2 separate regions of the Homo sapiens genome follow, and region 2 is linked to region 1. Evidence: promoter capture Hi-C in human tissues and cell types (Jung and others, 2019). All regions are on one chromosome and are shown on one strand. Each heading gives the region's core, a stretch centred on a gene start or on the middle of the fragment in contact. The rest is flanking DNA. Distances are from core to core; before and after follow the strand shown. Region 1 holds the start of HMBS (hydroxymethylbilane synthase). Region 2 overlaps CBL (Cbl proto-oncogene).

Region 1 (4,980 bases), core at 979-3,478:
AGCTAATTTTCACATTTTTAGTAGAGACGGGGTTTCACTGTGTTGGCCAGGCTGGTCTCGAACTTGTGATCCTCCTGCCCCAGCCTCCCAAAGTGCTGGGATTACAGGCGTGAGCCACCACGCCTAGCCTGATCCCATTTCTTTCTACATCAGACAGTAGCCACTGTAGATACTGATACTGTCGACAGTCAACATTCCCTGATCTGGGATGTTCATCCTATGTAGTTCCTTTTTTTTTTTTTTTTGAGACAGAGTCTCCCTCTGTTGCCCAGGCTGGAGTGCAGTGGCATGTTCTCAGCTAACTACAACCACTGCCTTCCAGGTTCAAGCGATTCTCCTGACTCAGCCTCCCAAGTAGCTGGGACTACTACAGACGCACACCACCATGCCCAGCTAAAATATGTGTGTGTGTGTATATATATATATATATTTTTTTTTTTTTTCTTTTTTTGAGGGGGAGTCGCGCTCTGTCACCCAGGCTGGAGTGCAATGGCGCGGTCTCGGCTCAGTGCAACCTCCACCTCCCAGGTTCAAGCGATTCTCCTGTCTTAGCCTCCCAAGTAGCTGGGACTACAGGCGCATGCCACCACGTCGGCTAATTTTTTGTATTTTTAGTAGAAACGGGGTTTCACTGTGTTCCCTAGGCTGGTCTCGAACTCCTGAGCTCAGGCAATCCACCTGCCTCGGCCTCCCAAAGTGCTAGGATTACAGGCATGAGCCACTGTGCCCGGCCTAATTTTTATATTTTTAGTAGAGACGGGGTTTCACCATGTTGGTCGGGGTGCTATGGAGTTCTTTTGCACCCAGACATCTGGGGCCTCTATTGCCGAAGCAGGTGACAGCTTTCTGCCCTCAGACTCTGGTCTACTCCATGTGATCACTCCAATAAATTAACCCTGGGAGACCCTTTGCAAATTAGGCTAGGCTTGATATTAAACGTGGCCACCAAAATTCTGGGCCACAGGGAGCCCACAGAAAGGACTCTAAGGTCCCAGAACTACTAGGTTCAAACAATTCCTTAAGTTCATTGAATGTGCACAGCATATCCAAGTCAAACCGTTTCATTAAAAAATAAAACACTGAGCACTTCTATGTTGAAGCTATTGCTTTTGCATATTGTTGTCGTCTCAAAAATCCTATCAGGTGGACAAGACAGGCACCTTTGGGACCATGTTACAGAAGCAACGGGTGGCATCAAGGGATGAGGTGACTTGCCTAGGGTCACAGAGCTAATAACCGAAAGAGAGTTGGGGCCACAATTCAGATCTTCCTACTCCTAGTCCAGGGCTCTGGAATGACTGCAAGAGCAAAGATCCCAGCCCTCACCAACAGGCTGGACAGGGGGAGATTAGCAGCTCCCCATCTCTTTCTTATCTCGGCCTGGCAGTGGCCTCCACCAGCTCTGCAGTTTGTCTGTGCACAAGCCCAGGGCTCGGCAAGCAGGCTCGTAATGGAAAGGCCCACGGCGGCCTCCCACCCACGGTAGTAATTCAGTAGGTGTGTCACAGCTGGGGACTTGGAGCGTTGGCTGTGGCTGGGAGACCACTATAACACAAAAAGAAGGCGCACTTCTAAGACGTTTGTGTGCAGTTCGGAGGCTTGGCTGATACTCTCTCCTATGAATCAAAAGTGGAACGTGTCTTCCCAAAGGGGCCGTATCTGCATCCGCCTCAGCCCAGCCTCGAATGAAAGGACCCCGTCTGTGTAGACGAACGTTCTTGGTCTGGGTCACTAAATCTAGAGCCGTGCATCCCAGGCCTGATGGGAATCCCACCCAGATGCCCGCAGGGACCGGAGTTCCGTTCCAAACAATCCTTCCACTCTTAACCCAGTATCACCGCTCTCTGATTTCCCCATTCCTTCCGGAGGGCAACCGAGCTACTGGCCCTTTAAAAGCTACTCGGACCAAAAAAAAAAAAAAAAAAAAAAAAAAAAAGATAGCCGTTCTGACCAATAGACGACTGAGGATGGCAACCTGGGGCCAATCGCTGCACGGCTCGTCCAGAAGCCCAAAGTGTGCTGGTCACCGGCTCAGCACTCACCGCCGTTGCAGCCGCATTGCCGTTACCAGACATGGCTCCGCTTGGAAAGTAGGCTGTGTGTGGGTGCCGCTAAGGTCCCCCGGCCCCGGGAAGCCGGGGGCTCCGGCCGGCGAGTACCGGGGACACGTGGGACCCGAGGTCGTCCTACAGTCTGACTCCTGGTCTCCGCAGAGCCTCGCGTCACTTCCGGCGCCCTCCCTCGAAGGGGAGGTCCCTCCCTCTGGGCGGGAATTGGAACATTGCGACAGTGGACCTCCCCATTCGACCACCCCATTCCCCAGCTGTGACATGAGCAAGTAGTGCAGCTTCTATGGCGCTTCCTTTGCTCTGTTCAAACTTAGCTTTGCTACAACCTTGAAATAGGCAGCATTTTTCTTTTTGATACGGGGTCTCACTGTGTCCCCAGACTAGAGTGCAGCGGCATGACCACGGGTCACTGCAGCCTTGACCTCCCGGCTTCAGCGATCCCCCCACCTCAGCCTCCCAAGCAGCTGGGACTACAGGCGCACATCACCACGTGGGACTAATTTCTAGATTTTTTTATAGAGACAGCGGGGAGGTGGCCTCACTATGTTGCCCAGGCTAGTCTCGAACTCCTGGACTCAAGCAGTCATCTCGCCTTGGCCTCCCAAAGTGCTGGGATTACAGGCGTGAGCCACTGGCCCAGCCAGCATTTCAATTCTTAAAATGAGGAAACTGGTTCAGAGAGATTAAAGGTCATGCCTAAAGACAAGTAACTGAAGTGGGAGCACAAACGCTACATGTAGTGAGAAAAGGGCTTGTTAGGAAAAGTGCTTTCCCATGAACATAATTTTTTTTTTTTTTTTGAGACGGAGTTTCGCTCTTGTTGCCCAGGCTGGAATGCAATGGCACGATCTCAGCTCACTGCAACCTCCGCCTCCCGGGTTCAAGCAATTCTCCTGCCTCAGCCCCCCGAGTAGCTGGGATTACAGGCACGCACCACCACACCCAGCTAATTTTGTATTTTTGGTAGAGATGAGGTTTCTCCATGTTAGTCAGGCAGGTCTTGAACTCCTGACCTCAGGTGATTCGCCCACCTCGGCCTCCCAAAGTGCTGGGAGTACAGGCGTGAGCCACCGCGCCTGTAATCATGAACATAATTAACAATCATGATTATTAATAATCACCCAGCTAGGTGCAGTGGCTCACACCTATATTCCCAGCACTTTAGGAAGCCAAGGCAGGAGGATTGCTTGAGCCCAGGAGTTTGAGACCACCCTGGGCAACATGGTGAAAACCTCATCTCCACAAAAAATACAAAAATAGCCAGGTGTGGCGGCACACACCTGTAGTCCCAGCTATTCAGGAGGCTGAGGTGTGAGGATCGCTTGAGCCCAGGAGGTCGAGGTAGCTGTGAGCTGTGGTGGTGCCACTGCACTCTAGCCTGGATGACAGAGTGAGACGCCCATTTTTTTTTTTTTTTTTTTTTGAGATGGAGTTTCACTCTTGTTGCCCAGGCTGGAGTGCAATGGTGCAATCTCAGCTCACCGCAACCTCCACCTCCCGGGTTCAAGCAATTCTCCTGCCTCACCCTCCTGAGTAGCTAGGATTACAGGCACCTCCCACCACACCCAGCTGGTTTTTGTATTTTTAGTAGAGACGGAGTTTCACCATGTTGGTCAGGCTGGTCTTGAACTCCTGACCTCAGGTGATCCGCCCACCTCAGCCTCCCAGAGTGCTGGGAATACAAGCATGAGCCACCGCGCCCGGTGAGACCCTGTCTTAAGAAGAAAAAAAAAATCACCCATGTGCTCAGCACTGTACAAAGAACTGAACACCTATTTGATCCTTAGGCTTTCATAATAGCCACACAGCATAGGTGTTATAATCCCTAACGTACAGATGAAGACACAGGTTGAGGGGGAAAGGGTGGGAGCAGGGTGAGGGATAAGAGACTACACATTGGGTACAGTGTACACTGCTTGGGTGATGGGCACCAAATCTCAGAAATCACTACTAAAGAACTTATTCACATAGCCAAATACCAACTGTTCCCCAAAAACCCACTGAAAAAAATACATCTCAAAAAAAAAAAAAAAACATGTTGAGAAGGTAAGATGTGCCTTAAGTCAAACAGCACAACTAGGATTCAAACCCAGCTCAGTAGATGCAAAGTCTACTCATAGCATAGCAGCTACAATACTGCCACTGTTTTTTAATTTTTTACTTTTTGAGACAGGGTGTCTGTCACCCAGGCTGGAGTGCAGTGGTGTGATCAAGGCTCACTGCAGCCTCAACTTCCTGGGCTCAAGCAATCCTCCCACCTCAGCCTCCTGAGTAGCTGGGACCACAGGCAAGCGCCACCAGGCTGGGCTAGTTTATTTTTATTTCTTGCACAGACGGGGTCTCACTATGTTGCCTGGGTGGCTGGTCTTGAACTCCTGGACTCAAGCGATCCTCTCACCTCAGCCCCGCAAAGTGTTGGGATTACAGGCATGAACCACCGCGCCCAGCCCATGGCAATCCTAAATACTACCTAAACCACAGTGTCAAACTTACGTCCTCCAATTAAACAACGTAGAAGATGAAATTAGGTGAGGCTGTGGGGAAAACGACAACATAGGAGCAATTTTCAGACAGGCAGCACCACCCAAATTACACGGGGACACCTAGCAACATAAACTTTAGCTGACAATTTCAGAGAGGGAAAGGTGTTTCCAGAAAGGACCTTTTATCCCGTTTATCATCTGGTATTAAGTATAGCAAGACACCAACCTACCCATTATTTAAGGTAGGTTAAGCCCAAAGCTCCCTACCAGAATCTGCCTCCTGCTTGAATATTTTGCCCAAACTACAGCCATAGAGACCAGGAAGAGGAAAGAGTAAGAGCTGTTTTGGGGGTCTTGGTCCAGGCTGCTCCTGGAGCTCAGTCATTAGGTCTTTTGCAGAGGTTCTTCAGTAAATTGAACTGTATGCG
Region 2 (4,980 bases), core at 1,234-3,733, 160 kb before region 1:
CTCTCTGCATCATCTAGCCTATGTTCCATTAGAAATTTCAGGAGTGAAACTCTCGTTATGTGAACATATAATCCTGCTGTAAATCACACTACTGAATATTTTTGTGTCCAAAAGGCATGGTTATTAGGTTATTAAGACATGTGTAACTTCTCTTAAATTTATGTAGTTTACTACTTTATATGATGTTTGAAGTATGGCCTCCAAAGAATCACTTCTGTAATATGAAATGAAACAGTCACCATTCCTTTACATTCAAACAAAACAGAACTGCTCATTAACATTTTGAAAACCTTGGGTAAAGGCAGACTTATCTTATCTTTTTTTTGGGTTGAACCATTGTGTGTTTCTAAGGAAGAGAGGCTGGTAAACGTATGTTAATCTAACTCTCTGAGCCTCGGTGTCCACAACTCTAAAGAGAAAAATACTGTCCTTACATAAAGGCAAAGGCCAGGTTATTTAGCTCCACAATGAATACAGAATACCTGACACAGAGAAAGTGCTCAACTAACGTGTATAGTGAGGTAGGGAGTAAGGGAAGAAGGATAGGTTGAGTTTTGAATATATCAGGCACACAGCAAGCACATGATAAATATTAATTGCACCAGAATTTGGAAGTACCCCAAATTAAATTTTAGACTGGGACAACTTCTTTCATCCAAGATGGAACTACAAGGACTGGATTTACTCTCTCACCTGAAAGAACTAAAAAAATTAGACAAAATATTTAAAATATTTTTTTATTTTTGAGACAGAGTCTTGCTCTGTTACCCAGGCTGTAGTGCAGTGGTGTGATCTTGGCTACCTGTAACCTTTGCCTCCCAAGTTCAAGTGATACTCCTGCCTCAGCCCCTTGAGTAGCTGGAATTACAGGCGCGCACCTCCACACCCGGCTAATTTTTGTATTTTTAGTAGAGACGGGGTTTTACCATGTTGGCCAGGCTGGTCTCAAAGTCCTGGCCTCAAGGAATACACCCACCTCCAGCCTCTGAAAGTGCTGAGATTACAGACATGAGCTGGTGCACCTGAAATAATTTTCACAAACTGGACACCAGGCAATAGCGGACAGGGACCCCCTGAAAAAGGAAAACAAATAAGGCAAGCCCTGTGATTGATCTAACTTACTGCCTGGAGAGTTTTCATGTCTCAGCACTAGAAAGGGAATTCAGGCAGACTTGACGGTCACTCTGGGTTGAGAAGACAGAATTTGGGGCCTGGGAAAGCCAAGGCATCTGGAGTTCACAGTGCAAAATACAAGAGAGGAGAGAGATGCATAAAGAAAGCCCAGCTTTGAAGAGCTACAGAGGGGACCTTCTAAGTCTTCAGCTAAGCACTGATCAACACAGGAAAATACCTGAAGCTAGGGAAAGAACCACCTGAAAGGGGTAGAGGGAATAATCCCTAGATCTCACACAAGGACAAGAGAGGAAAAAAATCTTACAATTCAATGGACATCAGGGGAAATTTACCCTAGATTAAAGGTCATTTTGGTCCTGCCTCACAAGGTTTAAAAGGATCAAACTATTCCATGTAACATAGCTGTGTCCCAGAACACAGCTTAGGAGTATTTATAATATAAAAGAATCCAGTGTAGAACAAGGTAAGATTAACGATGTCTGGCATCCACTCAAAAATTGCCCAGCATGGACTGAAACAGAAAAATATGACTCTTACTGAGGATAAAAATAAACCAATAGAATTAAATCTATGAGTGACAAAGATGACAGAATTAGCAGACAAAAGCCAGGCACAGTGGCTCACATCTAAAATCCCAGCACTCTAGGAAGCTGAGTAAGGTAGGAGGATCACTTGAGCCCAGGAGTTTGAGACCAGCCTGGGCAACATAATGAGGCTGTATCTGTACAAAAAAATAAGTTAGTCTGTATGGTAGTGTGTGCCTGTATTCTCAGCAACTTGGGAAGCTTAGGTGGGAGGATCGATACTTGAGCCCAGGAGGCTGAGACTGCAGTGAGTCATGATCATACCACCTGGGAGATAAAGGGAGACCCTGTCTCAATTAAAAAAAAAAAAAGAAAGAAAGAAAGAAACTGTACCAAAATAATAGCAATATTAGTCACTTTCCTTTCCCTTTTGTTATTTGATTTCAATTCTCTATAATGTGCCCACAGCATTTTTTTTTTTTTTTTGAGACCGAGTCTCACTCTGTCACCCACGCTGGAGTGCAGTGGCGTCTCACCTCACTGCGAACCCTGCTTCCTGGGTTCAAGCGGTTCTCCTGCCTCAGCCTCCCAACTAGCTGGGATTACAGGCGTGTGCCACCATGCCCAGCTAATTTTTGTATTTCAGTAGAGATGGGGTTTTTCCATGTTGGCCAGGCTGGTCTCAAACTCCTGACTTCAAGTGTTCTGCCCTGCTTGGCCTCCCAAAGTGCTGGGATTACAGGCATGAACCTCCACGCCCAGTCGAAAATTTCATTTTTTATGAGTGAATAATATTCCACCATATGGCTATAACACATTTGCTTCACCCACTCATCTGCTGAACACTTGAACTGCTTCTACTTTTTGGCTGTTGTGAAAACTGCTGCTATGAACATGGGTGTACAAATATCTGTTCAAGTCCTTGCTTTCAATTCTTTGGGGTATGTACCTAGAAGAACTGCTAGATCCTATGGTAATTCTATGTTCAGCTTTCTAAAGAACTGCCAAACTGTTTCCCACAGTGGCTGTACCATTTTCTATTCCTATCACCAATGCATGAGGGTTTTATTCTTAAAATAATATCCACCTAACAGCTGTGAAGTGGTATCTCATTGTGGTTTTGATTTGCATTTCCTTAATGATTTAATGATGTTGAGCATCCTTTCATGAGCTTATTGGACAGCTGTATATCTTCTCTGAAGAAAAATCTATTCAAAACTTTTGAGCATTTTTGAATTGGTTTGTTTTGTTGTTGTTTTGAAGTTCTTTACATGTTCTGGATGTTGATCCCTTATCAAATATATAACTTGTAAATATTTTGACCCATTCTGTGTGCTGCCTTTTCACTTCCTTAATATGTCCTTTGATGAACAAAGTTCTTAATTTTCATGAAGTCTGATTTATCTATCTTTATGCTTTTGGTGTCATACTTAAGAAATCATTGCCTAATCCAAGATTCATGAAGATTTTCACTTATGTTTCTTCTACAAATTTTGTATTTTAGTTCTTAAATTTAGGTCTTTGATACATTTTGAGAGTTGTTTGTTTTCATTTTTTTGGCCCATCCTTCTGCAGGATTTTTATATGCAACATAAGGAAAGGATCCAACTTCATTCTTTTGAATGTGATAATTTAGTTTTCCCAGCACCATTTGTTGAAAAGACTGTTGTTTCTCCATTGAGAAGCTTGTCAAAAAAGTATCGATTGACCATATGTATGAGGGTTTATTTCTGGGCTCTCAATTCTAGTCTACTGGTCTGTATGTCTATCCTTATACCAGTACCACAATGTTTTGATTATTGCAGCTTTGCAGTAAAGCTTTGAAATCAGAAATACAAGTCTTCCAACTTTATTCTTGTTCAAGATTGTTTTGGCTATTTGAGGTCCCTTAAGATTTTTTATGACTTTTAAAATCCACTAGTCAGCTTCTGAAAAAAGTGCTACTGGAATTTTGATAGGTATTGCAATGACTGTGTATCAACATGGGGAATACTGCAACCTTAACAATTCTAAGTTATAATCCATGAACACAGAATGTCTCTCCATTTATTTAGGTCTTCTTTAGTTTCTTTCAGCAATGTTTTGTAGTTTCCAGTGTACAAGTCTTTTGCCTCCTTAATTTTATTCCTAAGTATTTTATTATTTTTGATACTACTGCAAATGGAATTTTCTTAATTTTATTTTTGGATTGTTCATTCCTTATGTATAAAACTATAATTTTTATTTGAGACGGACCCTTGCTCTGTCACCCAAGTTGAAGTGCAGTGGCATGATCTCGACTCACTGCAACCCCTGCCTGCCGGGTTTCAAGCAATTCTCCTGCCTTAGCCTCCCAAATAGCTGGGATTACAGGCCCCCATCACCACACCCAGCTAATTTTTGTATTTTTAGTAGAGACAGGGTTTCACCATGTTGGCCAGGCTAGTCTTGAACTCTTGACCTCAAGCAATCCGTCTGCCTCGGCCTCCCATAGTGCTGGGATCACAGGCGTGAGCCACCACACCCGGCAAATGATTTCTGTATATTGATCTTGTGTCCTGCAACTTTGCAGAACTCATTTATTGGCTTTAGTGTTTTCTTAATGGATTCTTTAGAATTTTCTACATACAGAATTATGTCACATGCAAATGGAAATGGCTCTTTTTCCTATCTTTTCTTAGAAGTTGCAGCAGAGCAATTAGGCTTCTTTTCTTTTCCTTGCCTAATTGCTCTGGCTGGAACGTCTAGTACCACGTTGATGAGATGTGGCAAAAGTAGGCTATCTTGTCTGCTTCATGATCTTAAAGGGAAGGCTTTCAGTCTTTCACCATCAAGTTATTAACTGTGTTTTCATGTACGGTATGGAACATCATTTTTACTTGAAAGAATGATGAATAGACTAACTATGGCTATTCAGACTTGCATAACTGGCAGAGTGTTTCTCCAAAATGAAGTGCCCTGTCACCTGATGATAAACTGGCAGTTTTCATTGTCAATAATGAAACTCAAGCTTTTAAGCAAAATTTCATTTTTCAAACTTCTATCCACAACCATCAGCAACAGCTTCCCAATACCAAACTTTTCTAATGAGATTTAATTAATGAATTTAATGTTTTGATATATATCAATATATGGAAAAATCTCTATAACCTAGTCAATCAATATTTTCCAAGTGACCAATGTGTGTTACGAAATCATGCACAAGTAAAACAATCATTCCAATTACAAGATAGCATGAATCTTAAAGTACAAAATGTTAATTGAAGCAGTTGCACACTGCAACTAACCTTTTAAGAAACTAATACTCGCCTGGGCGCACTGGCTCACACCTGTAATCCCAACA

Evidence for each region. The method cuts DNA at HindIII sites, captures the fragments that hold promoters and counts their contacts. A contact is called where the count stands out against the background at its distance.
Region 2: a contact is called between a fragment that was not itself captured here and the fragment with the promoter of HMBS in region 1, in 1 of the 25 tissues and cell types used here (spleen).

The regions. Positions count from the first base shown.
Region 1 is chr11:119,082,129-119,087,108 of GRCh38, reverse strand. It overlaps HMBS (hydroxymethylbilane synthase), which reads right to left and starts at 2,228. Exons shown (of 14, transcript NM_000190.4): 1 at 2,043-2,228. The coding sequence starts at 2,075. RefSeq lists enhancers at 1,951-2,000, 1,930-2,627. The HindIII fragment of the contact is 11,043 bases long and covers 1,709-4,980 here.
Region 2 is chr11:119,246,716-119,251,695 of GRCh38, reverse strand. All of the region lies in intron 2 of CBL (Cbl proto-oncogene), which reads right to left. Among named protein-coding and RNA genes, the nearest start is that of CBL, 43 kb to the right of the region's middle. The HindIII fragment of the contact is 3,159 bases long and covers 904-4,062 here.